Regions from separate parts of the Homo sapiens genome. Here region 1 is linked to region 2. The links are contacts of gene promoters, found by promoter capture Hi-C in blood cells and fetal thymus (Javierre and others, 2016). All regions are on one chromosome and are shown on one strand. The core of a region is centred on a gene start or on the middle of the fragment in contact, and the rest is flanking DNA. Distances in the headings are between cores, read along the strand shown. Region 1 has its middle 58 kb from the start of DCUN1D5. Region 2 holds the start of MMP1 (matrix metallopeptidase 1).

What was found. Contacts are between HindIII fragments. The CHiCAGO score rates a contact against its expected background, and 5 or more counts as called.
Region 1: a fragment that was not itself captured here is called in contact with the fragment with the promoter of MMP1 in region 2 in 3 of 17 cell types (endothelial precursors, M1 macrophages and M2 macrophages); the score reaches 9.6 in endothelial precursors.

What each region holds. Positions count from the first base shown.
Region 1 is chr11:103,030,908-103,036,763 of GRCh38, forward strand. No RefSeq gene overlaps it. Among named protein-coding and RNA genes, the nearest start is that of DCUN1D5, 58 kb to the right of the region's middle. The HindIII fragment of the contact is 173 bases long and covers 4,275-4,447 here.
Region 2 is chr11:102,796,338-102,803,024 of GRCh38, forward strand. It overlaps MMP1 (matrix metallopeptidase 1), which reads right to left and starts at 1,823. Exons shown (of 10, transcript NM_002421.4): 1 at 1,651-1,823; 2 at 919-1,163; 3 at 677-825; 4 at 327-452. The coding sequence starts at 1,755. It also overlaps the pseudogene WTAPP1. The HindIII fragment of the contact is 10,818 bases long and covers 1-6,197 here.

The DNA of each region.
Region 1 (5,856 bases), core at 3,111-5,610, 240 kb after region 2:
TTCACTGTAGAGAAATTAAAATACACAAATAAATTATAAGTAAGAAATCTTAAATATCATAATTATGCCACTACTTAGAAACTAGTGAGATAGTTAGATACAATACAATAGATACAATAGATAGATCTAATATTCTTTTAGATCTCTAAATTAATCAATTTATAAATATGGAGTCATATTACTCATACTGTGTTAAAATCAGCTTTTTTCATTTCATGACATAGAGCGAAGAATGTCCAATAACTAGTTATCCAAAACGTAATGGCTGACTGATATTCCACTGGATGAATGAATAACTTACACAGCCAATGTCCTATCAGTGAACATTTAGATTTCTACCAATTAGATATGATGAAAAATCTTGTAGGTACTCTTAAAGCACTGCCCTAATATTTTTAATTTAATATTTATTTTAATATTTTAAAGAATTTGGTATAAAATTTCCTTCCAAAATAATTATAAAATTTCAAGGTCTTGAAAACATTGCCAAATTATCTTTCAAAAAAAAAGGTATCAGTTTATACTCTCATCAGCAGTGTGTGAGAGTGGCCTCTTCTTTGATCCTCAATCATAAGTTATTATTTCTTTCTATAATCTTTGTCAGTTTGATAGGTAAAAACAATATGATGTTTTAATTCACAGTATTTTATTATTAGTTAGCTTAAATTTCCATGTTGATTGTATAATTATATTTTTCCTTCTGTAAATGATTAGTTTAAATCCTTTGGATATTTAGAGATTGTTGTATTCATCTTCTTCTAAGTTTGTAAAAGTTGTTATATATGAAATAACATTTTATCTGTCCTACAGATTAAAAATATTTTTGCCTAATTTTTCAATTGCCTTAAAAATTTTTTTTTCAGGTTAATAGAGATACAATTTAGAATCGTTTCTCAGCCTTTTGGCTAAGATCAACTGTGAGATACAATTTAGAGAAAGTAAAACTTACCCTTTTCTATGAATTTTAACAAAAGCATACAGTCATGTAACCGTCACCATATTCATCACTAAATTCAGTAAAAATGTAGAATAGTTTCATCACCCCTCAGAAGTTCCCTCATGCTCCCTCCTTCCGCAACTCTTGCCCCCAAGTAACCACTGATGTTTTCTTTCTCTGTGGTTTTGCCTTGCCCAAAATGTCATATAAATGAAATCATACAGTATGTAGCCTTTGGAATCTGGCTTCATTCACTGAGAATAATGCACTTAAAATTTATTGATATATTAGTAGCTTTTTTTTCCTTTGAATGTATTGCTGAGCAGTGTTTTCTGTACTCAAATATCACATAGTTTCTTTATCTGTTCACTGGTTGATGCACATTTTCATCATTTCTAGTTTTGGGTGATTGTGAGTAAAAAAAAATAAGTATTCATAAATATTCACGTACAAGTTTTTGTGTAGACATGTTTTTATTTCTTGTGGTTACATCCCTAGAAGCAGGGTAAACATATATTGAACTTTATAAGAAACTGCCAAACTTTTCCAAAGTGACTGTACCATTTTCTATTGCTACCAACCATGTATAAGAGTTCCAGTTGCAGCCGGGCGCGGTGGCTCACGCCTGTAATCCCAGCGCTTTGGGAGGCCGAGGCGGGCGGATCACGAGGTCAGGAGATCGAGACCATCTTGGCTAACACGGTGAAACCCCGTCTTTACTAAAAATACAAAAAATTAGCCAGGCGTGGTGGTAGGCGCCTGTAGTCCCTGCTACCTGGGAGGCTGAGGCAGGAGAATGGCGTGAACCCGGGAGGCGGAGCTTGCAGTGAGCCGAGATTGCGCCACTGCACTCCAGCCTGGGCGGCAGAGCGAGACTCCGTCTCAAAAGAAAAAAAAAAAAAATGAGAGTTCCAGTTGCTTCACGTCCTTGCTCATACTTGATATTCTCAGGCTTGTTTTCTCTTTCTTGTTTTTTGTTTCTTTTTCATTTTAGTCATTCTACTAAGTATGTGATGTTATCTCACTCTGTGTTAAGTTGCATTTCTGTGTTAACTAATGATGTTGAGCATTTTTCCTTGTGTTTATTTGCCATTCTTATTTCTTCTTTGGTACAATAGTTCTTTAAATCTTTTGCCTGTTTTAAAAATGAAGTTGGCCTGGTACAGTGGCTCACACCTGTAATCCCAACACTTTGGGAGGCTGAGGCAGAAGGATAGCTTGAGGCCAGACATTCAAGATCAGGCTAGGTAACATGGGGCAAACCTATCTCTAAAAAATTAATTAATTAAAATAAAATAAATAAAAATGAAGTTGTTTTGTTATTATTGAGTTGTGAGTGTCTTTACATATTCTAGGTAGCAGTTCTTTATCAGATATGTGTTTTGCAAATATTTTTCCCAGTCTGTGTCTCATCTTTTCATTCTCCTAATAGTATCTTTCCAAAAAACATGTCTTTACCAAGAGTATCTTTTCAAAGAGGAAATTTTTTATTAGGTCAAATTTATCAGTTGTTTCTTTTATGATTCTGACTTTCCTGTGTCTTATCTAAGAAATATTTGCCTATTTAAAGGAGAAAATTTTTCTCCTATGTTTTCTTTTAGAAGTTTTATGGTTTTAGGTTTCACATTTAGGCCTATAATCCCACCTCAGTTAATTTTTTTTTTTTTTTTTTTTTGAGACAGAGTCTCTGTCGCCCAGGCTGGAGTGCAGTGGTGCAATCTTGGCTCACTGCAAGCTCCGCCTCCCAGGTTCACGCCATTCTCCTGCCTCAGCCTCCGGAGTAGCTGGGACTACAGGCGACCGCCACCACACTCAGCTAATTTTTTTGTATTTTTTTAGTAGAGACGAGGTTTCACCATGTTAGCCAGGATGGTCTCGATCTCCTGACCTCGTGATCCACCCGCCTCGGCCTCCCAAAGTGCTGGGATTACAGGCATGAGCCACTGCCCCCCGCCCCTTCTCAGTTAATTTTTGCCTATGGTGCAAGAAATGGGTCAGAGTGTGTGTGTGGGTGTGTGTGTGGGGGTGTGTGTGTGTGTGTGTGTATATATATATACACACAATTGAATATTCATATAAATATATGAATATGCAATATTCATATAAATATATTTGTAATGTTATGTATGTAAATTTTTAATATTCATATACATATGTTTATATGAATATTCTGTTGTTCCATCACCACTTGTTAAAACAAACTACTTTTTCTCCATTTAATTGCCTTCTCATCTTTGTAAAAAATACATTGGGTATAGGATAGGTGTGTAGATCTATTGCTGGACTCTCTATTTCTCCTTTTTTGTCTGTGGGTCTGTCCTTTTACCAATACCGTATTACCTTGATTATTCTCACTTTATAATAAGACAACATCAGGTAGTGAGAATACTTCAATCTGATTCTTTTTCAAAATTGTTTGGCTATTCAACTATTTTTGCTTTTTTCATATAGACTTTACAATCAGTTTATAAATTTCTACAAAAATATCATGCCAAGATTTTTTTGTGGAACTGAATTGCATCTGTAACCCAATCTGGGGAGAAAATTTATCTTAACAAAATTGTCTTCCCATCCATGAACACAGAATATCTCTTCATTTACATAGGTTTTTTTTTTTAAGTCTCTCGTTAGTGTTCTATGGTTTTCAGCACACATTTCTTAGATTTGTAGACAGGCATTTTATGTTTGTTTGTGCTGTTATGATACTCGGCTGGGCATGGTGGTTCATGCCTGTAATCCCAGCACTTTGGGAGGCTGAGGTGGGCGGGTCATTTGAGGACAAGAGTTTGAGACCAGCCTCGGCAACATGGTGAAACCCAATCTCTACTAAAAATACAGAAATTAGCCAGGCGTGGTGATGAGTGTTTGTAGTCCCAGCTACTCTGGAGGCTGAGGCATGAGAATCACCTGAGCCCAGGAGGTGGAGGTTGCAGTGAACCCAGATTGCACCACCGCACTCCAGCCTGGGTGACAGAGTGAGACTCTGTTTCAAGAAATAACAATAAGAAAATAAAAATAAATTAATTAATTTAAAAAATATAAATGATAGTTAATTTTTTTCTGTATTTATAGTATTTTTGCATTTAGGTATTTGTTGCAATGTCTGTATTTTATGTTTTAAATTACCCTTTGTCTGTCCTACCTGTCACCAATATTTGGCCTAACTTGCCATTTACCTTTTCATGTTGTTTATAGCCATATAGTTAAGTCTTTTTATTCATGCTTCTCCTTTTGTGTGAATTTATTATATTTTAAATTAATTACCTTTACCTATATTATTTTAATCTTAATGAAAACTATAATAACTATGAAAAGGACAGTGTTATTCATCTTTTAAAGCTTATTACACTGATATCAAAAGATTAACTTTTTAACATTCACAAATTAGTAGGTTACATTAATTTTCCAAGGTTAGAGGCATTGTTGAGTCTGAGATACTTTGATTGTTTTACAAATACCTTTCACAGATCCTGCACTCAAGGAGGAAAAACTGATAAATGAACTTAACAAAGCTTCAGAGGTATCTGAGGGGAAGTACAGAACTTCACATCTGTGGAGTGATCAGGTCACTGACTGATCACAGTGGTAGTAGTAGTAGTAGTAGACACAGTGGTACATCACCCATTAATTTAGTTACTGGTTGAGGTAGAACTCACAGGGCTGCAATTAAAGACTCTCTTAACATTATTTTTTGGATTTTATGATTCACACATTTTTTTTCTATTAATTGAAGACTCAGAGATTACATCTTGTCCTTTGAAAAACATCAGATGAAGTAAGCCAATTTTCTAAGTGTAAATTCATACATTTCTTAACTGGAAAAAGAAAAAGCAGCACCCCAAATATAAAAGGTATTATAATTTTGGATAAACTATTAGAAAGGCTGGCATGTGGAGCAAAACATGACATACTATTAATGGTACCCTTGGACTGACAGACTTATGGTAAAGTTTATGAATTCATATGAAGAAATGCAGCTACTAATTACTTTCAGATGAAGATACCATTAAGCCATTGAATTAGTCAGCTTGAGCTGCCATAACAAAAGCCACAGACTTTGTGTCTTAAAACAACAAAAATTTATTTTTTCACAGTCTGCAGGCTGGAAGTCTGAGATCAGGACGTTAGTTGGGTCCAGTTCTGAGGAGGACTCTCTTTCCAACTTGCAGATGGCCACATTGTCGCCTTGTCCTCACATGGTGGAGAGAGAACACTGGGTCTCTTCCTCTTCTTATTATAAGGACACCAATTCTATGAGATAAGAGTTCCAACCTTAGGTGTCATCTTCAATACAGCCACATGGGGGAGTCATTCAACATATGAATTTTTCAAGGACACACTTCCGTTCTTAACAGCCTTTAAGAGAATGACACATATTTTCCACTACAGAAGATATTACTAGTTAGCAAAATTTTACAGGAAATAGCTGAGGATTGTGTTTATGGTTTAAGCAAACAAGATGATGACATTTCCTTAAGCTAAACATAAATGCTGATCAATGGCCTCATTTAACTCTACTACCAGAAAACCAGCCTAAGACAAACCTGCCCTCTCTTGTGACAAAACCCAAACTACGACTCAAGAATTAAATGCTGATGGTAAATACAATAGAGTTTGGAATGACAACAGAATGTTCTCCTAAGCCTCCTGAGAAACACAGAAGACATAAAATATCACAAGTCATCATTATTCAGAAAGATCCCTACAGAGATCTCTGTTGCAATAAATTCTCTAGAAGGAAAAGGGTCTGCATTTGGGGATAACTGACCTACTCATTTGTCAATGGAATTTAAGTAAAATGTAATTTTATTGGTTGGAGAGATTTTGTGCTGCTTAGGTAGAGAGAAAATATGTTTCTTTCTGTGTTTTTTTTTAATAAAATAAAATCTTGGAGCTCAAAATTTTATTCAACATACTTA
Region 2 (6,687 bases), core at 573-3,072:
TTTCCACATAAGTTTATGACCGCTGTTAAATTTCACTGTTTTCTTCTAATGAAAAAGTTTCAATGTTGATGCCCACAATTAAAACATCAAAGTTTTCAACAATTTTCTTAATAAAAATTTTAGAGTGGCCTAGTTGTCACTGCTAAGATGTTGTTAGCTAGCAGAAAAGACCGCTCTTTCACTTTTCTAAGTGTATCACTAATTTTCTGAGTGGTAATAGAAAAATATATACTTCTATGAATGCATTCTTTCAACTAAATCAACCAATATTACAATGAAACATGAAGGGGTGGGAGAATTGAGAGAGGCAAATTTGATTGGCTTACCTCTGAAATTGTTGGTCCACCTTTCATCTTCATCAAAATGAGCATCCCCTCCAATACCTGGGCCTGGTTGAAAAGCATGAGCAAGATTTCCTCCAGGTCCATCAAAAGGAGAGTTGTCCCGATGATCTGAAAGAAACAATTCAACAAAGATTCCTTGTGGTTCTTATGTAAGCTAAGCCAGAAGGGCAAGCATTAGCTTTGTTAAGAGGCCAACAGACTTCCATCAACTGTGATGCAGTTTCCCTCTTCGAGCCCATAAAATCAACATTCATCTTAAACAATCAATTCCAGTTGCAAAGCTACGAGATCTAGGGGCAAGGTGAGGTTAAGGTGCTATAAGAAGAACTTACCTCCCCTGACAAAAGATATCATGATGTCTGCTTGACCCTCAGAGACCTTGGTGAATGTCAGAGGTGTGACATTACTCCAGAGTTGGAAGGCTTTCTCAATGGCATGGTCCACATCTGCTCTTGGCAAATCTGGCGTGTAATTTTCAATCCTTAGAATGAAACAAAATAGAGACACATTGGACATGACTTCTTACCACTGTCATGGGAAATAGCTCTCTCACTCTGGCCCTCAGTCTGCCTACCTGTAGGTCAGATGTGTTTGCTCCCAGCGAGGGTTCCCCTCAGTGAGGACAAACTGAGCCACATCAGGCACTCCACATCTGGGCTGCTTCATCACCTTCAGGGTTTCAGCATCTGGTTTCCCAGTCACTTTCAGCCCAAAGAATTCCTGCATTTGCTTCAATTTTTCAACCACTGGGCCACTATTTCTCCGCTTTTCAACTTGCCTCCCATCATTCTTCAGGTTGTAGTATTTTTCCAGGTATTTCTGACAAAAGAAAATTATCGAAACACTGCATGGGAAATCTTTCTCATTATTCTAAAAATTGATGGCATTAAGTTTTAGCCAAAACAGAGAACTGCTTTTAAACCTTGTGTTTAGATTTCGCAGTTGCTTTTATCCTTATTTTTGGTGAGAAATGAAATTTCAGAGTAGAAATGTCCCTACTATTAGTTATTGTGAAGTAAGAACTTCATAGTAGAGCAATTTTTGTAGAGCAAGATTTGCATACTGTTACAAGTCTACAATTTGTGGAGACAAGTTTGGATGTTGTTCCTTTAGTTCACTCTCACCTCCAACTGGAAAAAGAGAGCGTATGCATGGCTAGATACATTTTGGGTGGAGGGTGCTGTTTCTAGCAAAAAAAAAAAAAATCTCTTTATAAGAAACCTATCCTTAAAAAACTCTATTACATTACTGCAGAAAAATACAAACTAAAAATTTACATTATTGTCACATGCAATGCAGCATTTACCTGGACTAAGTCCACATCTTGCTCTTGTGTTTCTAGAGTCGCTGGGAAGCTGTGAGACACCACACCCCAGAACAGCAGCAGCAGCAGTGGAGGAAAGCTGTGCATACTGGCCTTTGTCTTCTTTCTCAGTGCAAGGTAAGTGATGGCTTCCCAGCCTCTTGCTGCTCCAATATCCCAGCTAGGAAGCTCCCTCTGTATATATAGAGTCCTTGCCCTTCCAGAAAGCCAGAGGCTGTCTGACTCATGCTTTATAACATCCTCTTGATTAGCTATGAATAGACTAGGCAATCATTAGAAATGGTGACTCCTAGCAGATTATTTGGAATCACTTGGTGTTGCAATGTCATGATTAACTTCAAACAAGATGTGTGCGAAGGAGACACACTCTGCCATGTAAACAGTGGTTTTCTCCAATTCATTTCTTTCCTATTTGAGAAAGGTTCTTGTTATATACACAGGTCAAAGAGTACTCCATGGTCTTTTTGAAAAAGACTGGTTCTGATGGTCATAAAGTGCTACAGGTTTCTCCACACACCTTGCTCCCAGGGCAGAGGGTGGAATTACTAACACTGCGCACCTGATGGCTGTTCGGCACCTGTACTGACTGAAGTTCAGCTCCCCCAGCACTCACTTTACGGTGGCTCTTCGGGGTTCTCTGAGGTTCCCTTCTGCCTTTGTTAAGCTGCCTGGTACCCTATTGCGATAGCACCATGGCTTCCCTTAATCTTTACTCAGAGCCAGGCATGGTGGCTCAAGCCTATAATCCCAGAATTTCAGGAGGCCGAGGCAGGGGAATCACTTGAGCCCAGGAGTTCAAGATCAGCCTGGGCAACATGGTGAGACCCCATCTCTGTAAAAAACAAACAAACAAACAAACATTTTTTAAAGTTAGCCAAGCATGGAGTCATGCACCTGTAGTCCTAGTCACTGAAGAGGCTGAGGTGGGAGGATCACTTGGGCCTGGGAGGTTGAGGCTGCATTGAGCTGTGATTGTGCCGCTGCACTCCAGCCTAGGCAACAGAGAGGGACCCTGTCTAAAATAAAATTTGAAAAAATTTACTCAGGCCTAGGATTTAAGAGCCTTACCTGAGAAGACCCCTCATCCACAGGCGGAGTATGAGATAACTCCCCACCCCTTGCCCATCATTATCATGGGACAAATAGGATCCTTCCCTGAAACTTGTCTGAATGTACCGGATGATGAAAAGGCTGGAAAGAGACTGAGCGTGACTCTGGGGTCTTATTTTTAATCATACTTGTTTCCCTTGATATGAGTCTATCTTCGCTCCTTGGTGCTAGGCAGCATTTATTTATTCTTTCATGTATGCATTCATTCATATATTTATGCATTCCTCCATTCAAAAGATCTTATTTAGCATCTCCTGCCCATTAAAATAAATACATGGCTCTGTAATGAAAGATGTGTATTCCTGTACTTATGTTCCACATTAAATTGTCTTGGGTACTGGTGACCGGTGTCACCAGTGCTATCTGTAGCATTCCTGGTAAGAAAAGTTGGTTTATCTCTGTAGCTCCCCTACTCATGCCCCACTCTCCTTCCTTGGAAGCATTTATTGAAAACATACAGTGGAGAAACACTGGCCTGTTTTATCACTTCAGCACCTTATGGTGTCTCCCACCTTTCCCACTGTATCAGGTTTGCTTTTCAACACTTTCCTCCCCTTATGGATTCCTGTTTTCTTTCTGCGTCAAGACTGATATCTTACTCATAAACAATACTTCAGTATATCTTGGATTGATTTGAGATAAGTCATATCCTTTCTAATTATTTAACTACAATTTCCTCATCTAAGTGGCATAACATGTGAGTTCAAGAGGGTAAGAAGAATGGGAAGACATTCTCACGAAAAGGAAATCCTCTTCTCAGAGGCATCAGAGGGAGGGTGCGGCAGAGACCAAAGAACACTTGCCACTGAAGTGACTCCAGCACAGACAAAGAAAATAGTGAAAGGGGCTCTTCATATTAGAGGGTGAACATAGACTATGTTTTAAAAGTCAAGGAGTGGCAGATATACTCGACTGTGAGGGAATCTAGTCACTGTGAAGACGTGACAAGCCTAGCTCCACTGAGGCCTGGGAAACAAGGGTGAGTTAATAGGTTAACTCAGGAAAGCAGCATGTGACCATCTGTGATTGGACAGGAAATTGCCTAAGACGTCACCCTGGAAGAGTCTCATACACTGTCCCATCTGGCAAGAGCCTGCACATCCTGCAATGTAGAAGTTTTCAAACTTTTATAAACCTCTGTATCCTTTACTTAAACAAAATCCCTTTTGGAAAGCAAATTTGAAAACCAGGTGAAAACAGAAGTTCTCTGATGGAAGTTGGAAATAGAGCCTTGGAGTCCCCCACAACCCGCCACATCATGCCTGCTTTTTCCTCCCTTCTCTAGCAAAGCTCCCTGCATCTGAGTCCAGAGCTCTCATGCTAAATGCTCATAGTGTTTCATTAAATGTCATAGTTGCTGACGTGGATTGGAAACTGGTTGCTTGAAACATCTTTTCGTTAATTTTTTTTCCTAAAATAAACGAAAAAAATTAAATTAAGTTTTGGTTAAGCAGCCAGCCTAGATTCACATGGCCCTGAATCTTGGAATTTCCAGTTAGGTATTCATGGAAGATCGTCTAATACAACATATGTAACTTTGCAGCTGGTGCTAGCATATGATTTATTTGAGAGTAAAAAAGAAAACAAAAATTTAGAACAGAAAGCTGGGGATTAAATCATACCAAATCCTAGCAATGCCTAAACTTAGCATAGTTTCCAAGAAGTTCAGAACATGTTAAAGTTGTATTTGCTCTTCACATCCATACTATTTGTTTCCTCTGGGAGCATCTTCTTCCCCCATAATTCTCTTTTAAATGTAATTTTCTGAAATTATTCCTTTACCCCTTATGACAAGCATAAGAGGGCTCTCGTGTGGCTGTGTCAGCTGACTCCGGACTATTTCCAGGCAGCCAGATTATTTCCGTGGTTTTCTTGGTTGCTTCATGCTGGCTGCTCTGTGAAAGGCCTCAAACATATTTGTATTTTTCCATATTAAACTTAGTCTTGAAATTTCAATCTTGCTTCATATTTTTTTATGCTGGGGAATTCAGCCGTTTTAATTTTGTAACTCCATTTGAGTGTCAGATATTTTTTCTATTTTTTTGTCCTGCAAGTCTTGAAATGGTCTTTAGCCAGAAACATTAAGTATTTAATGCTATTTTGTTGTGAGAGTTACACGTGGGAAAAATTTGCCCCACGGTCTGTATTCTTCCTACATATGGCCATGCAGTAGCTTTATGGATAACCATTGACCAGACACTTAACAGACACTTGGTACACACTGGTTCCGTCAGTCCTCATGGTTACCTTCTGGGTAGAAATGATTGATCAATTAACCCCAAGTCCCAGGGCACACAGCAGAGCGGTAGTCACTCGTTGAACACAGTTCTGTGCCACTGCAGTCCAGACATAACACATACATACTCTGGGGATAGAAATCTTGCTTCCCTAACAGAGAGAAAGTGTCTGGAGACACGAGGACTGTCACATTAACTCCCTCAAGTCCACAATAATGTCTCCATGCCACCACCCGGTCCCACAGGCCTGAAAGAATCCTCCCCTTCAAGCTGTCACTCAATCTCTCTTATTTCCCTTATCAAACTTGTTGAATTTATAGTTTATACTACCTCAACATAGTAGGTGTCTGCAAATGATTGTTACATGAGTTAATAAATGAATAGATCAATGAAGAAATAGATACTTAAATGACACTTAAATAAAGGGTCTATTTCTCATTAGGCTGAGTTGTTTATAAGAAGTCTTATGCCCATGACTTTTACTCTCCTAAGACTAAAGTTTTTAAAATTACCATGGGAAGAATTTGGATATATCAACTGACTGGACATTCAATTAACTAATTTATTTATTTAGAGACAAGGTCTCCCTCTGTCGCTTAGGCTGGAGTGTAGGGACCTCAAACTCTTGGGCTTAAGCAATCTTCCTGCCTCAGACTCCCAAGTAGCTAGAACTACAGATGTGCACCACCATGTCCCACTGATTTTTAAGATTTTTTGTAGAGATGAGGTCTCACTATGTTGGCCAGGCTAGTCTCAAACTCCTGGCCTCAAGCAGTTCTCTCACCTCGGCCTCCCAGAGTGTTGGGATTATAGGTGTGAGCCACCACACTCAGCCTTACTGGAGATTTTATATGAAGCATAGCACATTTATTTTTGGTGATTTGCATGCCATGCTACAAGCATTTAGTATCAGATTATTTTGAGCATTTTATTAATTTGTTTGTCAATAATATTTTCTTATCTGCATGGTTTATTAAACACTGTGGAAAATGCTTATAGTTAGCACATTTGTGAAACAGATTTTTGCAGCTATAGCTCCTTTTAAAGGAAATTCAAACCAAGAGACTTTCTGGGGATGAGTGCTACTCATACCATAGCTCAGTTCAGCCCTGTCAAAACCGTCCTTTCCCAGCTCTTACATCTGTGAATGTGAATTTGAGATGGATTTGAAATATGTGAGGAAGCTTCCTGTGAGATTTTGATCATGTGCCCAGACTATGACTTGCTTGTTTGGAGTCTGTGACATACACACGTGTGTGGCCTGCAGAGCTTTTAGTCCATGATTCAGAATTCAAACTATATTCCATTGTTTCAGAATTTTTCTGTTTTTCACAAAGTGAAATGTTCTCTAAGCCTGCTACCCAGTTCTTTTTAATTACTCTTAACTACTTATGCCTCAGCCATAATTCTTTCTTTATTTTTTTATTATTATACTTTTTGAGGCAGAGTCTTGCTCTGTTGCCCAGGCTGGAATGCAGTGGCATAACCATGGCTCATTGCAGCCTCCGCCTCCTGGGCTCAAGTGATCCTCCCACATCAGCCTCTCAAGTAGCTGGGACTACAGCTCTCGTACGGCAACTGGGGAACTACAGGTGTATGCCACCACACCCAGCTAATTGTTATTATTATTATTTTTGTAGAGACAGGGTCTTGCTATGCTGTTCCGGCTGGT